Regions from separate parts of the Homo sapiens genome. Here all the other regions are linked to region 1. Evidence: promoter capture Hi-C in 16 types of primary human blood cells and fetal thymus (Javierre and others, 2016). All regions are on one chromosome and are shown on one strand. The core of a region is centred on a gene start or on the middle of the fragment in contact, and the rest is flanking DNA. Distances in the headings are between cores, read along the strand shown.

Evidence for each region. The method cuts DNA at HindIII sites, captures the fragments that hold promoters and counts their contacts. A CHiCAGO score of 5 or more calls a contact.
Region 2: a contact is called between a fragment that was not itself captured here and the fragment with the promoter of RPGR in region 1, in 2 of 17 cell types (naive CD8 T cells and neutrophils). The highest score is 5.5, in naive CD8 T cells.
Region 3: a contact is called between a fragment that was not itself captured here and the fragment with the promoter of RPGR in region 1, in 1 of 17 cell types (neutrophils). The highest score is 6.6, in neutrophils.
Region 4: a contact is called between a fragment that was not itself captured here and the fragment with the promoter of RPGR in region 1, in 1 of 17 cell types (neutrophils). The highest score is 5.5, in neutrophils.

Annotation. Positions count from the first base shown.
Region 1 is chrX:38,325,999-38,328,955 of GRCh38, reverse strand. RPGR (retinitis pigmentosa GTPase regulator) reads left to right here and starts at 1,447. Exons shown (of 15, transcript NM_001034853.2): 1 at 1,447-1,616. The coding sequence starts at 1,589. It also overlaps a transcript of OTC not described here. RefSeq lists a silencer at 1,509-1,758. The HindIII fragment of the contact is 17,506 bases long and covers 1-2,957 here.
Region 2 is chrX:37,859,556-37,862,464 of GRCh38, reverse strand. No RefSeq gene overlaps it. Among named protein-coding and RNA genes, the nearest start is that of DYNLT3, 13 kb to the right of the region's middle. The HindIII fragment of the contact is 2,309 bases long and covers 121-2,429 here.
Region 3 is chrX:37,906,898-37,909,746 of GRCh38, reverse strand. It overlaps a transcript of SYTL5 not described here. Among named protein-coding and RNA genes, the nearest start is that of DYNLT3, 61 kb to the right of the region's middle. The HindIII fragment of the contact is 1,884 bases long and covers 374-2,257 here.
Region 4 is chrX:37,818,241-37,820,957 of GRCh38, reverse strand. No RefSeq gene overlaps it. Among named protein-coding and RNA genes, the nearest start is that of DYNLT3, 28 kb to the left of the region's middle. The HindIII fragment of the contact is 7,319 bases long and covers 1-2,717 here.

The DNA.
Region 1 (2,957 bases), core at 198-2,697:
ATTTGGTAGTCCAGCACTGTCTAGGAGTCAATAGTCAGAAACCATTTCCTGTTGATTCTAAGACCTAAAATATTTTCAAATCTGCCTGCTCCTCTCTGGCACCAATGAACTGTACTCCAAGCCATCCTGACCACATGTCTGAAATTCTGCAATAGCCTCTGAACCCTTCTCACTGCTCCAGTTTATTCTCTACAAAGCATCTAGACCAGGCAGAATGATTTCAGGGACACACATAACTGATCCTGTCCTGTTGTTCTACTGCCTAAAACTTCTCAGTGGTTTCACATTGTCTTTAGGATAAAATCTCAGATCCTTAATAGGCCCAAGACCTTGCCACCTCGCTAGGAACCAGCCTCGCCTCTTGGTGTTCCTGGAAAGAGTCAAGCTCCTTACAAACCTTTATACACAATTTACTCTCTGCCAAGAGCTCTCTCCCCCTCCTGGCTTATCTTTCTCCAGTTCTTAGATTTAATGTTCTTTCTTCAGATAAGCCTTTCTTAACCTCCTACACCAGGTCAACGCTTCTTGTTAACCACTTCCTTAGTAACCTCCACTTTGCTTTGTAAGTAAATGATTATTTGTGTAACTAATAGTTTAATGTCCCCTCTTCATGTTAATGCAAACTTCCTGAGAAAGTGTTGGTAACACACAAGAGTAATTCAGGGATCCCTGAATCCAATTGTGTCTGATTCTAGGGCCCATGTCCACAACTACCAAACGTACGTAAATCTGCTCATTCTGGAAGATGGCTTTTTGCTTCTTTATTTCATGATAGCCAAATGTTGATGCATGGGAAACCCTGCATCATATAACATCGCTGAGCAAATTCTAGAGCAATGATGTTGGGCTACCCCTTTGTGTATGTTCTGTGAGTAGTGGACCATATACACCTCAGCTTTTACTTTTGTTGACTACAGGCTGGACTAGCTGGACTAGCTGCCCACATGCTTAAACAGAGGTAACATTAACCACTTTACAGGGTTGTAATAGTACTCATTTGTCCAATAAATACGTAATGAGCATTCAGTATAGGCCAGATGTTGGTTTAGATGCTGGGGATATCTTTAGCAGAGTGCTTACCTCCTTTAATGTTCCAGCTGGTCACTATTACTAGTAGTGTCATAATTGTGTGTCGATGCTTGCTTATGTCACGGAGTATGGGATTTGTGACGTTTGCCACTCATGGGCAGGGTCCCTGCGGCGCCTGGACCTCCAACGGCACAAGGGCGCGGACTCCACAGCATCACTGCGCGGCGTGGCCGCCTCTCTGCTCCAGGCCGCCAGAGGGCGCGTGGTCTCTACTGCCCCTCCGCTGTGCCTGAGCCTGCCCCTTACCAGCCACCCGGCCTCCGTTCCCCTCCCCAACGGCGCCTGTCCCGCCTTGCATTCCCAAGCTCCGCCCCCGTTGCCCGTAGCGGCTGTTTGTTGACTTCCGGGAGCGCGGTTGTAGTTGATCTCCGGAGTTTCGCCATGCGGAACTTGGGGGCTTTCGCGGCCCGCGTCGGTGCGGAGTAGCTGCTTTAGCCCCGACCAAACCGTCCTCTACAGCCTCCTGGCCCCGGCGCAGGCTGCCCGTACTGCCCGTGGCATGAGGGAGCCGGAAGAGCTGATGCCCGGTGAGTTGCGCCCGCGCCGGTGGCGGAAGGCCGGGAGGGAGGGTCCGCGGGCGGCCGGGCCCCGCCTCCGGATCGGCCCTGTAGGGGGACAGGCCCCAGGCTTGGCAGCCGGACTGGGGCGGGATCGCTGGTTGCGCTCCCGCGAATGACTGAGGGCAGAGGACCGGACGGGAAGAACAGGATGGGGGAGAACGGGAAAGAGGGTGCCTGTCTTTCGTATGCTTTTTAAATAAGCTCTTGATGAGCTTCTTGAAGGCAGGGACACTTTTTTTTTTTTTTTATGAGACGGAGTTTCACTCTTGTTGCCCAGGCTGGAGTGCAATGGCGCAATCTCGGCTCACCGCAACCTCCGCATCCCGGGTTCAGGCGATTCTCCTGCCTTAGCCTCCGAGTAGCTGCGATTACAGGCATGCGCCACCACGCCCGGCTAATTTTATATTTTTAGTAGAGACGGGGTTCCTCCATGTTGGTCAGGCTGATCTCGAACTCCCGACCTCAGGTGATCAGCCCACCTCGGCCTCCCAAATTGCTGGGATTACAGTCGTGAGCCACCGCGCCCGGCCAGGGAGGGACACTTTCTGTAAACTCCCCAAAGTGCGGACTCCAGACTTGTGCACTTTGGAGGTCCTGAGCTCCCGGTTATGTATTGAATGCAGTAAAGAGTGAGTGATCAGGGCTGTGGGGTAAAAGGGGATACAGGAAATAAATTGGACAAAGAGGGAGAAGAGGGACCCTTTAGCGAGTGTTTTTTAGCCTTTTTTTTCCTGAGCTCCATAGTTAGAAATACTTTTGACATTGTGACCCGATACTCCATATATACCGTGTAACAGAAATAGATGTCTGGTGAAGCAGTCCTTGTTCTATCCACTTAGATTCCACACACACCTTTTTGATAATGCATTCTTTTAAAATGCTGATCGTGATCCACTGAATTGATTTTCTGGCCCACTAATAGGTCACGACCATTTTGAAAAAACACTGGGTTTGAGCAGAATCATACCTTCACTGAAATATGTATGTTTTCTTCCATGCTCCTGGCCGGAACTGACATTCCTGGCCTGCAGTTCACAATTTAGTGAGACATACAGGAAAGTAAACAAAATGACCATATAAATTGACAGTAGATATTACAGGGCCAGAGCAGAGCCACCAAACCTTGGCTTGGGATGAGGGTATCAGGGAAGCCAGGGGAGCCAAGACAAAACAGTTAAAATGTTAAAGTAATTCATTCTGGGGAAACTCAGAGTCTGTTCTAGATCCTAGTCTCCCAACTCAATTATTAGTTGGAACTGAGATGCCTCACAGTGGTTCTCAAAAAGTTGTCCACAGTGGCTAGTCTCT
Region 2 (2,909 bases), core at 26-2,525, 470 kb after region 1:
TGTACTCAGTTGTCCCTATTCACTCATACTCACAACCCCATATATGAAAAAGCCAGGAAAGATATCAAGTCAAAATCATGGAACCTGATAATAACGTCCCCCAGCTGATAATACAAAGCTTCTTGTACCACTCTCCTGGCTACAATGCCCACAGTAGGATATAAAAGAGGCACCAAGAAGAAGAGGAATCCTCACTCCTGCTTAGATGTTGGCTTCAAAAATATTTTATGTTCATCCAGATGCAGTGGCTCATGCTTGTAATCCCAGCACTTTGGGAGGGCGAAGTGGGCAGATCACTTGAGGTCAGGAGTTCAAGACCAGCCTAGCCAGCATGGCAAAATCCCAACTCTACTAAAAATACAAAAATTAGCTGGGTGGGTGGTGCACACCTGTAGTCCCAGCTACTCTGGAGGATGAGGCAGGAGAATCACTTGAACCTGGGAGGCAGAGGTTGCAGTGAGCTGAGATCACACCACTGCACTCCAGCCTGGATGACAGAGAGAAACCCTGTCTCAAAAAACAACAACAACAAAAAAAAATATGTATATATACTTCATATTCAATCATCCAACTTTCTGACCCCTACTCTCTTTGCTTCCATCTCACTTTTTCTAGAACCTTCACCCCAGTAATTATCTGACACCATTTTGACCTACAGTTCAATGATCCTATCACTTTTTCGCTGTCCATCACTACTTACCGAGCTTAGAATCCACAAGCTATCAGACCAATCACTCCCCTGAAAATGCCTTTGAAGGCCATGATTCTCTCTTCCTCAGTCAAAATCACTTGGAAAAGCCCCAATCCGGGTTAACCCTACTCTTCTCCATATGCTTCCAAGAGCTGAACATGGCCAGAGGCTGCAACATCTATGATAGGTTTCATTTTAAAATTATGACCACAAAACGCAATTGAGTTGCCTGAGATTTTACCATATTTTTCTAATTTATTTCCTTCCCCACACTCTGAGAAAATCCATCGTCCTCTCTCATGTAACGTCAAACTTCAAATCTAACTTCTAATGTAACTTTCAAATTCTTGTCTAACTTCTTTACATTATTTGAGTGATTATCTAAATGTCATTTTCTCAGAGAACTCTTCCCTCTTCACCTTATCTATAGTATCCTCACCCTAGTCACTCTCTATTCCCTTACTTTTCTTACGTCTTCTTTATAACACTTACAGCTACCTCGTCATGTGTGTGTATACACACACACACACATATATATATATACACACACACATATATATATAATGTAAGAGTTAAAGAAAGAGGAAAGAAACATGAAACACAGATTGGCAGTTAAAGACACCTTTACTTTAGATAAAATATGAGAGGGGTTTCTGGCCAATTTTGGTCAGGAGCACTTTCTCTTACAGACTAAGAGAATATATTTGTTTTAGGGTGAGGGGGCTTATCACTAGCTTGGAATGTTTCAGTGTGAGGGAGAGGATTTATGGCAGGGTTGGAATGTCTCTGGGAGGAGGGGAGTTTATTTTGGGACAGACATCTTTCCGGCTGGAGGGGGTTTATCTTGAGGCTGGCATCTTTCCGGCCAAAGGGAGGTGATCTCGGAGCTAGCATGTCTCTCGTCGGGGAGGAGTTTGGAATGTTTCTGGTTGGAGATGTTATTTGTGGTTTATGGTCTTGCTGACCTTAGCCATTAGGCTGATGCCCTTTGGATTTAGGCAGTTTTTTATTAGGTGAACTTTAGAATGAAGGGCTTGCCCAAGATGGCGATGTTCCTGCTGTCATATAATACACATTATGTACATATCATATGTATATATGATATATATCTATATATGACAAATATATGTGATATATATATATATGATATATATATAGTGTTTGTGTATTGTCTGCCTTTCCTAATAGATCATAAACTCCATAGAGATGGGCAATCTTTCTTGTTCATTCCCATCTTCTAATACAGGATTTCTTAACCTCAGCATTATTGACATTTTATGGCAAATAACTTACTGTAGGGGACTGTCATGTGCATTGTTGGAAGTTTGGCAGCATCCATGGCCTCTAACTACTATAAGCCAGTAGGTCTCACCCTGCTTATGACAATCAAAATGTCTCCAGGCATTGCCAAATCTCCCTGGGGTGGAGGTGGGGGCAATGGTAAAAACCTGCCCTGGTTAAGGACTACCTCTCTAACACAATGTTTGGCAATAGAGAGTGCTAAGTAAACCTTTGTTGAATGAATGAATGAATAAATGACAAACCCATAGGACACAAAAACATTCCCAAGAAGTAGCAGAATGTATTGTTCTAACATCCAGCAGAACTATGTTTAAGCCTGTCCAGCAAAAGTGAATTTACCTTGTTGTAATGACATCTGAAGGGGAAGAAAAGATTTTGCACCAAGGGTTCTCAACCCTGACTGACTACATGTCATAATCACCCACCTGGGGAAGCTTCTGAAAAACTACTGATGCCAGTTTTGATTCCAGAACAATTAAATCAGAATCTCAAGGGGGTGGGGTCTAGCACAAAAATTTTTTTAACACCTCATCCTGTGCTTCTGATTTGCAGCCAGTGTTAAAATCCTATTCCTTTCAATTCTCCAAAGACTAGTATTACAGCATAGCAATCCTCATTGTCAATACATTTCTCCTCAAATATCTACATTAGTGATCAATTCCTTGGAAATGAAAGAAAGGATATCTCAGCACAGTAACTTCCCGCTCCATTTATATCTTCTATTCCCTGCCCCATTGTAGATCTATATTCATCCTAAGTAAGGTAATTTAAAAATTAGTGTTCTATTTTTGATAATTAGTTCTGGTAATTAAAAAAATGTATTACCTTGCAATTTTCTTTTGTAATAATGGCTTGTACTATGAAATAAAACTCATTTTGCCATACTGGGACCAGATATTACAAAGGCTTTGAAATA
Region 3 (2,849 bases), core at 66-2,565, 420 kb after region 1:
GCTGAGATCACGCCATTGCACTCCAGCCTGGGCAACAACAGTGAGACTCCATCTCAAAAAAAAAAATAAAAACAGAAAACAAACAAACAAAAAAACCTCCCCAGGTAATTTTTAATGTGCAACAAAGTTTGAATACCACTGCTAATCTACTCCAGGGGTGTCCAGTCTTTTGGATTACCTGGGCCACACTGGAAGAAGAATTGTCTTGGGCCACACATAAAATACACTAACACTAATGATAGCTGATGAGCTAAAAAAAAAAAATTGAAAAAAAATCTCATAATGTTTTAAGAAAGTTTACAAATTTGTGTTGAGCCACATTCAAAGCTGTCATGGGCTGCATGTGGCCTGCAAGCCACAGGTTGGACAAGCTTGATCTACTCCATTCTTTTCATTGATGAGAAATCTAAGACAATTGTAATCATTAAATTTCAATCTCTCGATACTTGCTTATCTGATCTCCCACCATGATGTCCAAAAACTACCTTCTGTAAGTATTTGAGAGAATATTCTACTGGAAAAGAGAAAGTTAAATCAAAGCGGGCAATAATATACACTCTTTTCATGCTTCAACTTTTTAAGTTTTAGTGTGTGTGTGTGTGCTAGGGACCATTTTGAACTGTGTGTGGGGGAGGGGGGCAGTAGTACATCTTCCCCAGTACAGGTATAGAGAAGGTCCCCAAAGATAATCTGTTGAACCAAGTTGTCAGTGCCACTACCTCTCCCTAGGTTCTTCTTTTCCCTCTTGTTAAGTTTCCCTCCAGGCTCCTAGGATCCAAATTAAAGACATTCAGATGCTGTAAACCAGCCTTCCAAGGCATTGGCAGCAAACCACTCATCAGTTTTTTTTCCTCACTAAATCCTTTCCCATGTCCCTGTGAAGTTTTGAAGCTCCCAAACTCAACACTCCACTCAAAGGACAACTATTTACTGAATATTTACTCTTTTCCAGGAACTTGAGGGTTTGATCCATACTTAATAGAAACCCTATGAGATTACACACACACACACACAGGCAAGGTGCAGTCTCTAAAAGTTAGCACACTCCATAAAAGTGATTTGGCACCCTTAAAATACCATATACCCATGTGGAGAGGGGAAATCTGCTCTAAATGTGTGCTTTTGCTACATTGATTAATATTTAGTATTTTACTTGGCCAGAACATTGATACGATCACAGGTTCAAAAAGACTTATTTTCTTGACAGTCTAGAAGACTTTCTGGTCAGTTCCCCAAATACATCACCTACCTGCCTCTCCCTGGCTGCCTTTCCACTATAGAAGCTGAAAAAACGGATACTTTCCCAGTCTCCTTTGCCACTAAGGGCAGCTATGTGCCCCAGATATTGCCAATGAGATAAAAGTAGGATTCTGTTAGATAAATTTGGGGAAGGATATTTTTTCTCTGATGAGAAAGTTGCATGAGGAAAAATACTCTGACCTTTTCCACCCCGTTTCCTGTCATTGAACATGGGATTAGGACCGAGTGTCTTGAGCTGTTAGAGCCATCTTGAAGCCATGAGGGTAAGACACTGACTCAGAACCCTGATATTGTTGGGTCACTGTATCAACTCCAGTTATTACCTACTGTCAGCCTTCTCTATTTTCTTTGTTTTTTTTTTTTTTCTTTAGAGACAGGGTCTTACCCTGTCACCCAAACTAGAATGTAGTGGTGCAATCATAGCTCACTGCAGCTTTAAAATCCTGGGCTCAAGGGATCCTCCCACCTCAGCCTCCTGTGTAGCTGGGACCACAGGCACATGCTACTGCGCCCAGCTAAACTTCTGTAGTATTACAAGCCATGTTTAGTTGGCTTTTCTGTTACTTTCAGCAAAAAAATAAAAAATAAAAAATAAAAAATTAAATATTAAAGTTCACAACAATATATAGATTTTTTCAAATATAGAAAACTCTCATTTATTTAGAACACAGTGTATTCTGAGGATCCACACTTTGAGTACCATTGAATTAAATGACTTATCTTTTAGGAGTGAAGAGAAAGAATGCACAGGTGGATTTCAAGGAATGGTAAACCTAATCTGGACTGCCAAATTATTTTATTCATTCATTTTTTTTCAACAGACCTTACTTTACTAGGCTCCAGGGATACAAAGATTAATAAGGCATTACCCTTGCTTCCAAATAAATTTTATTACTCTAAGCAAGATGGATATGTAAACCTAGAATCATAAGGTGGTAAGAGCTAAGATAGAGGTATGTAGAGTAGAGGAGTTATGTTATCAGAGAAGTGGGAAGCTTAACGGCTCCCCGGGGACGACATTGGAAGAGGATCATGGAAGCTTCCACTCAACTCTAAAAAATTATTCCTGTGATCTGACTAAACATGTAAGGTTTTATTAATTTTATTTCAAGGAGGGTTCTTTTCTATAATTATAGGTTATAAAACAAATGACAATTCAAGAAAGATCGGGGACTAATCAACTGCCAGAAAAGATACCCCATCCATTTTTCTCTCCCACAAAGCAAGACAAAAACATGGTTTTGTGTGTGCATTTTGGGGTGGGGGTGGCAGGCATATCAGCAGGGTTGTTTTCTGGAATAGAATACTTCTGTGTTGTGAATTAAGACCACTTGTTAACATTGCATCAAACCAAACAATTTGATGGTAAAGCAATCAGTTATCAATATGAACCACAAATTCATGCATTCTGGGAGATGCTCTCCTCTGCTCCTTTTAAGCAAAAATAACAATAATTAGTATTTACTTAATAGTCACAGAAACATTTTGCATTTAATGATAGAGAAAGGGGAAACATCTCCCCGCCACCACCACCAAAATGATTTTTCTAAAAGAGGTTAACAGAAGGAGGTCCCTAACCTTAGAGGAGA
Region 4 (2,717 bases), core at 29-2,528, 510 kb after region 1:
ATATCATGACTATACCACTCAAAGGGAATATTTCTAGAGTGATGTTTGAATAGATTCTTTTTTAAAACTCCCACCAAATGCTTTCACCATATGCTCAAGCTGTTCCTGTAGATCTTGTTGGAGCATTGTCCCCTGCTTCTGTCTGAAATAGTTGTTCTCAGAGCCAACTGTCCAGCCATAATCATAGAACATTCTTTGCTCTCCTGGGGTAAAGCCATTGCTTTTTAGGTCTTATTTCTTCATTCATTTTAGATTACTTCCTTGGTTTTCAGAAATACAACCTCAATGACTTCTCAAGAATGATGCAATTTTAGGTAAGGTTAATTTTAGTGTACCTTCTTTCCCTCTATGGTCAGAGCCCCATCTGTGTGGGGTTGCCCCTCTTCTTCCCGATTTGGATGTAATGTCCCAATGCAAAGTGTAAGGTCTAGTTCCTGACCTGTCACTGAGGCTGGATGATGTAACCTAGAAATGTATATGGGTGGGGGGTGAGAGTGTGTATTGTATCATGGAGTTAATCTTGACCAATGAAAAACAGATAGGAAGGGTACACCCTTGTACTGAGCACACACACATGCTGAGTATGGTTCTTTGGGGCTCATTGTGAATTGGTGGCTGTGCGGTGATGCTTCACATCTTCCCATGCCTCACTTACTGGGTTTCTCATGCTCACCACCTTAGGCTTATACCTCCCAAGCAAAATATAAGTATTTTAATCCCTGCCTGGAACTTTGCTTTTTAGCAGAGTGCCTAGGCTAAGCTAGCCAAGTATAGTATTCTAGGTTGAGGCTGGGCACGGTGGCTCACACCTGTAATCTCAGCACTCCGGGAGGCCAAGGTGGGCAGATCATGAGGTCAGGAGTTTGAGACCAGCCTGACCAACATGGTGAAACCCGTCTCTACTAAAAACACAAAAATTAGCTGGGCATGATGGCGGGCACCTGTAATCCCAGCTACTCGGGAGGCTGAGGCAGGAGAATCGTTTGAACCTGGGAAGTGGAGGTTGCAGTGAGCCGAGATTGCACATTGCACTCCAGCCTGGGCAAAAGGGCGAGACTCCATCTAAAAAAAAAAAAAAAAAAAAAAAAAGACTTCTAGGTTGAATATCATTTCCAGCAGAACTCTGAGTTTCTATGAAACTTCCCATGGACATATGTACATAAACAGATGGCATATCCTTTTTCTCTCTCAGATGTGGTCCCTGGTCCATAGGGCTTGGTCCATAGACTTCTAGTTTCCAGTGTTGCTGAAACAAGTTTGATTCTTGCTACTTTATGGGTTAGCTGTGTCTTGATTTGTTTTGTTTTGCTTTAATATTTCCTTTCTGGAAGCTGTTGCAAATTTACTTGAACCTCGATGTTCTGAAATTTTGTAATAATATGTCTAGACATAAGAAATTATTTTCAATGTGATGGCTACTCTGTGGACTCTATCCGTATGATGACTTGTATTATTTAGCTCAGATAAAGTATCTTATAATTTCTGACACTTTTCTCTCACGTGCTATTTCTATACTCTCTTTCTGAAACTTCCGTCAGTTGGATGACAGACTTGACTCTTCATTTCCATGTTTCACTCTTCCCCTTCTTTGTATCTGGTATTTCCATGCCTCTAATTTCTCTGGAATTCTTCAGGGAGATAGGCATCTTCCTGAGCCTTGTCCCTTCCTCAAATACTTCTAAGTTTTATTTCTTTCAAATTAATTCATAATTTACCACTTCTCTATCAATTATCCAGCTTCTAGGAACATGGTAAAAATTTTTATTTCTCGATAGTCCTCTTCTGTTCTCTTTACACAGGTTATATCATTATTATTTTTATTTTATTTTTTATTTTTTGAGACCGAGTCTCACTCCGTCACCCAGGCTGGAGTGCAGTGGCACGATCTCGGCTCACTGCAACCTCCGCCTCCCGGGTTCAAGAGATTACTCCTGCCTGAGCCTCCTGAGTAGCTGAGATTACATTTGCCCACCACCATGCCCACCTAATTTTTGTATTTTTAGTAGAGATGGTGTTTCACCATGTTGGCCAGGTTGGTCTTGAACTCCTGGCCTCAGGTGATACACCTGTCTCAGTCTCCCAAAGTGCTGGGATTGCAGGTGTGAGCCACTGCACCTGGCAACCATAATAATAATAACATGCTAATTAAAAGACATGCTAATTATTATTATTATTATTATTATTATTATTTGAGACGGAGTCTCACTCTGTCACCCAGGCTGGAGTGCAGTGGTGCGATATCGGCTCACTGCAACCTCCACCTCCCGGGTTCAAGCGATTCTCCTGCCCCAGCCTCCTGAGTAGCTGGGATTACAGGCGTGAGCCACATGCCCGGGAATTTTTGTATTTTGGGTAGAGACGGAGTTTCACCATGTTGGTCAGGCTGGTCTTCAACTCCTGACCTCGTGATCCCACCTCGGCCTCCCAAAGTGTTGGGATTACAGGCGTGAGCCACTGCGCCTGGCCCCATTATTATTTTTAAAATGCCATTTAAGAGTCTTCAGAGAGAGAGAGAGAAAGAAAATTGCTTAGGATCAATTCTTCATCCTGAACCAGAATTGTCTGAATTTTTATGATGTAGTTGAATCTGTGTTTTCCATGTAGCTTGTGGGTTTCAAGACTGCTTAACAGGGCTGTGTTTTTCCTGTATGTTAGACATGCTTTGGATTCATTCAGCCAGTTTAATATTTACTGAGTGATGGGTTTACGGTTTGTTG